3 separate regions of the Homo sapiens genome follow, and regions 1 and 2 are each linked to region 3. Evidence: promoter capture Hi-C in human tissues and cell types (Jung and others, 2019). All regions are on one chromosome and are shown on one strand. The core of a region is centred on a gene start or on the middle of the fragment in contact, and the rest is flanking DNA. Distances in the headings are between cores, read along the strand shown.

Region 1 (2,700 bases), core at 177-2,676, 270 kb before region 3:
CCAGACAATCGTCCCTCAGTAGACAGTGCCGCTTGGAATGACCACAGTCTGGGAAGCACTAACACATGGCATTTACCACCAGCTAAATAAACATTTGATTTCATGTTGCACAATGACCTAGCCAGTCCAGCTACTTTAACCCTGGTCTTCCTATAGAATGACCCCAGTATGAGCTCTACTTCAGGGCAGCTCCTCTCTTGGATGAAAGGCAGCAAAGAGCTTGCTGCCCAAGCTGGCCAAGAGGAAGTGCCCACAAAACTATTTCGCTGTGGAAGAAATCTGACCCAACATCCTAACAAACCCCCTCACATGGGCTTCCAATCTTTTAAAACTCATGTCTGCTCCCCACAGGCCCACCCTGGCAATGACTTGTCAATTTCCTTCACGTCTACGTCTAGAAAAAAAGTGAGAAAACTGGATGCAGCTTCGAGTGCTAAGCCATGGGGGATGGACTTTGGTCCCCAAGCAAAGCATTAATGAAGGTGTTGCAAGGGGAATAGTTGAGATATGATATGAGGAAGACCAGAGAACAATTCCTGATGAACGTCCTCCCTCCCAAGCCTCAGTCTGACCATAGCTTCCTCATCTGGGAGTTGTGAGAATGAGGCTGGCCTTGTGCAAAGCTGATCACCTTGCTTTCCGTGGAAGGGGCTCGGTCACTGAGGTCATCATTGCTTCTCACAGGGATGCCTCTGCCCAGGAGGCTGAGCAGGCCACCGTTGGGTGACAGGCCGAAGAGTGTCAAGTATCTCCCCGGGCCGGGAAAGGTGCGAAAGAGATGGGTACTCTTGCCCCAGGGGAATGTATCAAAGGACACCTCCAGAACAACCGTACCGCTCTGTCTTTAGTTGTCTTCCTGGGGCAGGCTTTACAGGGGACCTGTTTCAACCTTAACGATAATATTAGTGTTGGCTGAAACCAAAACTATGGAGAGACGTTTATTCCTTCCCATCCCTAAAGAAGTGGCGCAGGGTCAGAAGAGACTGCGGGACAGGGAACTTTACATCAGAGCTCTTGACAGGCAGTTAGAGGCTGCTCACTTTGCGCCGCCGCCTGGCTCTTTGGGGCGCAAGGTACAGCTTCCTGCCCACCCCTGAAAGAGAGATTCCCTAGACTTCTCACGGAAGCTCACACATGCCCCTCTTCTGCCCAGCGTCCGCGCCTCGCGGGGGACCATGCTTTCCGCGCCCCGCCCGGGCCTCCTCCCCAAAGCCTGCGACCCAGCCTCCCGCACCTTGACCGTGTCCAGAGGGTGACCGACGAACACCAGGCACACGCCGCCAAAGCCGCCGGCCAGCAGGTTCTTGAGCGGGCTGATGGGTTTTGGCTGGTCGGCCATGGTCAGTCCGTCTGTCACTCCGTCTGTCAGTTCTCGGGCCGTCCTGGCTTCTCAGCCCCAGCTGCAGTGCCGGCGCCGCCGACCTTTCACCCACTTTTGGGTGGGCGGGGCACGAGCCCGGGGCAGGTCGGGAGGAGGGCCCAGTTGGCACGGTAGGGCTTCCGCCCGGGGCTGCTTCCGGCCTCGGCCCCGCTTCGATGGGCGTGGCAGAGCGCAAAGCCGCATGGGCGGGGTTTGGGAGTGTGGGCCAGCGGGCCTATTCCTCCAGGAAGCCTTCCCAGACTTCCATGTTTCCTCTGAGCTCCCATTCATCCACTCACTCCAGAGAGATCAATTGCGCCCTGCCATATGCCAGGCGTCCTTCTAGGTGCTGGAGGCACCCCTGGTAGTACAACACACAGGTCCCTGTCCTCCTGGAATTTACAGACCATAACAAAGATAAATAACTAAAAAATGCATAGTGTATCAAGTAGTAATAAGTACTACGGAGAAAAATCCAGGAAGAGAGTTAGAGGGTGTGTGGGACAAGTGATTTGCAATTTTAGTTCGTTGAATAAGGGAGGGTTTAACTGAAAAGGTGACAGGATTCAAGACCTGAGAAGATGAGAGAGGGAGTTCTGTTCACACATAACAGGGTCAAGGGTGAGGAACCTTCCACCCAGAAGAAAAAGAAAATGCAAAAGCCTTGAGATGGTCTGTGCCTGACATGTTTGAGAAACCACAGGAAGAGGGAGGGTAGTAGCTGATGAGGCGACAGAGGTTTTGGAGGCACTAGAAGACAGGTTTGGGCCTGGTGTTATGGCTCATGTCTGTAATCCCAGCTCTTTGGGAGGCCAAGGCGAGAGGATTGCTTAAACCCAGGAGTTTGAGACCAGCCTGACTTATATAGCGAGACTCTTGTCTCTAAAAAAAAAAAGTTAGGCCGGGCCCAGTGGCTCACACCTGTAATCCCAGCACTTTGGGAGGCCAAGGCAGGCATATCAACTGAGGTCAGGAGTTTGAGACCAGCCTGACCAACATGGAGAAACCCCGTCTCTACTAAAAATACAAAATTAGCGGGGCATGGTGGCGCATGCCTGTAATCCCAGCTACTTGGGAGGCTGAAGCAGGAGAATCACTTGAACTTGGGAGGCAGAGATTGCGGTGAGCCCAGATCGTGCCATTGCACTCCAGCCTGGGCAAAAAGAGCGAAACACTGTCTCTACAAAAAAAAAAAAAAAAAAAAAAAAAAAAAGTTAAAGGCCCGACGCAGTGGCTCATGCCTATAATCCCAGCACTTTGGAAGGCCAAGGCAGGTGGATCACCTGAGGTCAGGAGTTCAAGACCAGCCTGGCCAACATGGTCAAACCCCGTCTCTACTA
Region 2 (2,700 bases), core at 20-2,519, 320 kb after region 3:
CCTTCCCCCAGCCCGACACCTGTAAAGGGTCTATGCTGAGGTGGATTAGTAAAAGAGGAAAGCCGCTTGCAGTTGAGATAGAGGAAGGCCACTGTCTCCTGCCTGCCCTTGGGAACTGAATGTCTCCGTGTAAAACCTGATTGTACATTTGTTCAATTCTGAGATAGGAGAAAAACTGCCCTATGGGGGGAGGCGAGACATGTTTGCAGCAATGCTGCCTTGTTATTCTTTACTCCACTGAGATGTTTGGGTGGAGAGAAACATAAATCTGGCTTATGTGTACGTCCATCCAGTCACAGTACCTTCCCTTAAACTTAATTATGACGTAGATTCTATTGCTTACATGTTTTTGTCCTTATTATGATGCAAATATTACACCATTTTATATAAGGGACTTGAGCACTTGTGGATTTTGATATCCTGGAACCAATCCCTCATGGATACCGAGGGAAGAGTTTGTAAATGTATTAAAACAAAGTAGTGGAATTGGAATCAAATTCTTTTGATTTTGTAGGTATCTGTGTTTAGCCTTTTCACTGTGCTGTGAAGATTTCCCCCCCAGGCATCCTAGGGGTTGATGGGAGATTTACTTAAGATTCCCAAGGCTGTCTAGGGCAGAAGTGAACCAGTTCTGCCTTGGTTGTCATAAACACCTCTGTTAATTAGCTCAGTTGTTCTCCAGGGATAGATTGATTCTCTAGCTAGCTTTTGCCAAGAAAAATGATCCAGTCAATAATGGAATTCCAAATAAGATTTCCTTTTTATTTGGCTATTAATCAGAACCTGGGATAACATCCATTTTCTGGGCCCTGATTTTACTATGGAATATTTCCATAAAACATGCATGTGATTACTGTAAATGTCCTGTAAACACTCCTGCTTGGGCTGGTAGGTCATCTTTTTTTTTTTTTTTTTCTTTTGAGACAGTTTTAGTCTTGTTGCCCAGGCTGGAGTGCAGTGGCGTGATCTCAGCTCACTGCAACCTCTGCCTCCCAGATTCAAGTGATTCTCCTGCCACAGCCTCCCAAGTAGCTGGAATGATACACCATGCGCCACCACACCTGGCTAATTTTTGTATTTTTAGTAGAGATGGGGATTCTTCATGTTGGTCAGGCTGGTCTCAAACTGCGACCTCAGATGATCTGCCTGCCTCGGCCTTCTAAAGTGCTGGGATTACAGGCGTGAGCCACCATGCCTGGACTGTAGGTCACCTCTGTGTCCAATCTGCCAGAGGTCAGGGATACGTTGCCGTCTAGGATTTTTTATATTGGAGACCAGTCTGATGAGTAGCCCTTGAGCAGGGACTGGATTCTAAGTCTTGGAGAAAATGAGTAAGTTCTACCTCTTATGTGAGGTATGATTGAAGAAATTGTGTTTTCTTTGTTTTTTGAGAGGCAGGGTCTTGCCCTGTTGCCTACCTGGAGTGTGGTGGCATAATCATAGCTCACTTCAGTCTTGACCTCCTAGGGTCAAGCAATCCTCCCACCTCAGCCTCCTGAGTAGCTGGGACTACTAGCACGTGCCACTATGCCCAGCTAATTTTTAAATTTTTTTGTAGCGATGTGGTCTTGGCTATGTTGCCCAGGCTGGATCCTCCTGCCTCAGCCTCCCAAAGTGTTGGGATTACAGGCGTGAGCCACCACACCCGGCCCAGAAGTGTCTTATATTTTTAGACTTTTGAGCAGTGTTGGAACGATTGAATTGCCTGAGTGGAGAAATTTGGTAGGAAGAGAGTAGAAGAGAGGCTCTTTATTAAAGACCTAAAAATAGAATTCATTAAAGTCACAAATAGATAACAGTAGGATTCCTGTCTGACTCTCTTCTGCTTTGGGTTTGTGCTACCAGCTGTTGCGTTTGCTTACCTAGAAAATAGAATAATATTTTGTCAGAAGGGTCAACAGTATGGTCCTAAAACATTGTGTTTGCAAGTCTGAGGATGTGCTTTTTCCAATTTTAAAAGTAGTTAGAAAGTGACCAGATTCTTTCATGTAGGGGAGAAATCTTAGCAGGAGACGTTGGTTCTTCTGCTTGTAGTGCCAGCCCTAACCTGACAGGTCCTGTGGGGACCCCTGTCTCTTCAGAGCCCTGAGCCTTTTTCCCTTCTAGTTGGACTTTGCTGACTAGAGAGGGATATCCTATGTAGGCCACCTGATTACCTGATTTAATCAGATGGTACCTCTGTTATTTTGGAGAAGAGAGTCTCCTTTTGATTCTAATAGCTGAAGATAAAAATGGCTCCGTATGCTTTCTTCCTGTGGAGGGCTCTGCTGCCCTGAGCTGCCTGTGCCCTTTACATCTGTGTGAGGGGGTGGAGGAATGTCCTGGCCTCCTCACTTCCATCCTGCTATGGGCTTCCAGGAAGAATGGGGTCCATTGTGGGCTGTACCCAAAGGCACAGTCCTCTGCCTCAGTGTCAGGCTTACTGTGGTCTCTGTGCCCAGTTTGCTGTGGTCACTGGGTGCCAAGGGGTTGGGAGCTCAGGAAGCCATTGCTGCTTTTTTTTTTTTTTTTGAGACGGAGTCTTGCTCTTGTCACCCAGCCTGGAGTGCAATGGCACGATCTCTGCTCACTGCAACCTCCGCCTCCCAGGTTCAAGCAATTCTCCTGCCTCAGCCTCCCGAGTAGCTGGGATTACAGATGCGCGCCACCACATTGGGCTAATTTTTGTATTTTTATTGTTATTATTTTATTTTATTTTAT
Region 3 (2,938 bases), core at 170-2,669:
AAAGGGCCCAGACTTACACCCACTGTCCATGCCCATCTGTTTCTCCAGCTGCTGCTGTTCATGTGTGGAGCTGGAGTGGGGTGGGGGAATCTCCCTGCCCACCAGAAGTTCTGTTTTCAGTCTCTAGACAGGGTACTCAGCAACCCATTTTCTAGCTCCAGAGGCATGGAGACCTAATCAAGAGTCGGACTTTTCTTCAACAGAAACTAAAAAGCTGATGAGTAGCAGGTGCCAATGACATCTCTCTAGGCAACCAGGCAGACCAGGGACCAGGAAGCCAGACCAAGATCCCAAAGTTTAAGGACAATGGGAGCCAAAGGCTGCAAGTAGGATGGTGAGTCAAGGGGACATTAGCGGTATGCACTGTCCTACCTAAGACTTGGAGGGCCACAGACCTCAGTACAGCCCAGATGGAGGTGACTGAGAACACCTAACTACTCCCAGACTTCTTTAAAGAAGCTGTGGACATCAATCATAACTAACATCTAATACCCAACCCAACACTGAGGGTTCCCAGAAGCAAGAGGCAGCTCCCCAGCTGCACCAGAGCATTAAAAGATCAGCCAGGATCAGGCAGGTCCCTCGGGCCATGAGGCCCGTCTGTGTAGTTTCTTCCCACCGCTCTAATGCAGCAGATGAAGTCTTCAGAATACCCTGGAGGAAATGCCCTAGGGCTCTTTGTTTGGAAACATTCTTGGATCCTCAGGTGTCTTGGGCACTTCCCCTCCCCAGAGACCGTTCTCCAAGCACAATCCTTGCACATGACTTTAGTTCTTTATTAATGTTTTTTGAAGGGATGTAGTTCCCAGAGCTGTGAACTGTAGAAGAGAGAGGGACCTATTTCCCACCCTCACACGCGCCCCAGCGCAAATATTTGGGGTGACCTGGGGGCTCTTCCACCCAGGTTAGGCTGGGCTCTTGGGAGGGGTTTTCTGGGCTTTCGAGAAGCTTCGGAAACAGAGGCTCCTGCCCGGCCTCCGACTTCCCTTCACACGTGCCCCCGGGGAAGGCAGGAGAAGTTGACGGAAGATAGGGCGTGAGAGAGGCGCCACACAGGCAGACCGGGGGAGGGGGCAGATCGGGGCCCTCAGGCTGGGAATGCACGTCCTTAGGGCCCAAGCCGTGAGGCGGGGGTCACTGAGGCAGCGAAATGTACAGGGTGAACGGTGCTAGCCCTACCGGGACCGCACAGCCCCAGGGTGGGGTCGCTGGGCGCGGGGTGGGGGTGGGGTGGGGGGTCTCGGCCAGGCCGGCGGAGGACGCGGGTCCGGGAAGAGTTGGCCGCTTGCCCGTCCGCCCTGCCGCCTCGCGGGCCGCCCCTCCGCGGCGCGGCTAGGCCCGCGGCTCCAACCTACCGGCGCCGCCGCGGGGACCCAAGACGCGCCTCTGCGCCGCCTCCGCTGCTCCAACATGGCCGCCCGCTGCGCGCCGGAAGTGCACTGCGCTTCCGCTTCCGGGACCCAGCCCGCCCTACCGACCCTTGACCCCTGAGACCCCATTTCCCCACAAAGTCTGGGGGCGGAGCAGATTGGGTACCAAGGAGGACTGCCTGGAGGTGGTGGCCGCGGTGACTGCTCCAAACCCGTTCGGCCCTGTGCAGAAGTCTGAAGAACAGAGGTGCCCTCTGACGCGGCCCCAGGCAAGGACTCACTAGAGCCCGGCCAAGACTGGATTAGGGGTCATCTGACACCTTTTCTGAGGGGAGCTAGTGGTGCATTGACATCTGGGAGGGGCTCCTGACAAGGTTCAGGCCATCTTCCACCCTCTGATCTATCTTTAGCCACTGACAATGCCCACTTCAGTCCCAGACACCTGACCAGAGGGTGAAAGAGGAGTGCCTCCTGACAGGGAGTCTCAGGTGATCTCCTTTGTTTTGCAGTAAGGGTATCTTCTCCGAGGACAGCAGGCCTTCCTCTCTTCCTGAGAATAGGGCCTGTGGCACATGGCATGAAAGGCTGGTGTGCACGTGATCACAAGTGGTGCACGCAAGCCCAAGCGCACATGGAGTCTGGGGGCTCCAGTATACCACTGTGGGCCTGAGTATACTTGCTCAGGCAGGTGGGGGCAGGTATAGTCACTGGCCCAGCCTCAGCCCCTCAATGGAAGGAAGTCCTGCTTCCAGTCTTAACACTGCCCAGAACCCCTTTCCTTTTGCCTAGGAGTCTGGGACCTCAGTCTTTTTATCCATGCTCTTGGGCTAGTACGGGGTGGTGGTTATAGGACACAGGTCAAAATCAACCCTAGGGGTCTGTGACTTCAGTGAGAGGTCAGAGTGGTCTCCACAGCTCTGACCAAAGGTCCCATTAGTCAGAGGTTTGCAAGTCCAGGTTGGGAACCATCCTGGGAGCCCTGGTTTCATGGATGAGGTAGTGGGGGCATTTGCACTAGGGTCAGAGCCTGAGCCAGGAGGCAGAAATATTGCCACAACTCTTGGACTCTGACCCTTGCAGTGGTGCCTTATTTGGTAGTTGGGGTCAGGTGGAAGCCTATTGGCAATCACAGGAGGGTGGCGGGATGCTTCATTTAGGGACTGGGTACTAGCCCTTTTTCCTGCCCTTTTTCCAACCAGGATCCTCTGGTTGCTCTGTATTTTCCCTGCTTATACAGAGGGGTCCAGGCACTCCTAAAGACAAGTGCCTAGTCCACCCAGCAGTGCCATAGGCCTCATCTGGTGCCTCTTAGCTTCCCAGGGCCTCAGCACTAATGGTGAGGTCCTCGCTGCTTTTAAGTATAGCCAAGGTATCTAGCAGGAACTGCAAAATCTCCTGTTCCTCTGGGGTCAGTGCTTCTAGCCTTTTTTTCCTGGTGGAGAGAAAGCAAGAGTAGGGTCCCAGGGGCCAGGATCTCATGGGGTGCAGTCAGGAAGCCCCACCTTGGTGCCCCCAGTCCCCAGCTGTGGGTGAGTCCAGTCTCTGGCCGTCCATGGTTGAAGATTGAC

What was found. The method cuts DNA at HindIII sites, captures the fragments that hold promoters and counts their contacts. A contact is called where the count stands out against the background at its distance.
Region 1: a contact is called between the fragment with the promoter of SLC25A20 here and the fragment with the promoter of CCDC71 in region 3, in 1 of the 25 tissues and cell types used here (ovary).
Region 2: a fragment that was not itself captured here is called in contact with the fragment with the promoter of CCDC71 in region 3 in 1 of the 25 tissues and cell types used here (dorsolateral prefrontal cortex).

The regions. Positions count from the first base shown.
Region 1 is chr3:48,897,456-48,900,155 of GRCh38, forward strand. It overlaps SLC25A20 (solute carrier family 25 member 20), which reads right to left and starts at 1,427. Exons shown (of 9, transcript NM_000387.6): 1 at 1,235-1,427. The coding sequence starts at 1,339. RefSeq lists an enhancer at 348-397 and a silencer at 978-1,167. The HindIII fragment of the contact is 14,411 bases long and covers 1-2,700 here.
Region 2 is chr3:49,482,303-49,485,002 of GRCh38, forward strand. All of the region lies in intron 1 of DAG1 (dystroglycan 1), which reads left to right. Among named protein-coding and RNA genes, the nearest start is that of DAG1, 13 kb to the left of the region's middle. The HindIII fragment of the contact is 9,505 bases long and covers 1-2,700 here.
Region 3 is chr3:49,164,912-49,167,849 of GRCh38, forward strand. It overlaps CCDC71 (coiled-coil domain containing 71), which reads right to left and starts at 1,420. Exons shown (of 2, transcript NM_022903.4): 1 at 1,356-1,420. RefSeq lists silencers at 1,182-1,241, 1,262-1,341 and enhancers at 1,492-1,561, 1,582-1,701. The HindIII fragment of the contact is 16,226 bases long and covers 1-2,938 here.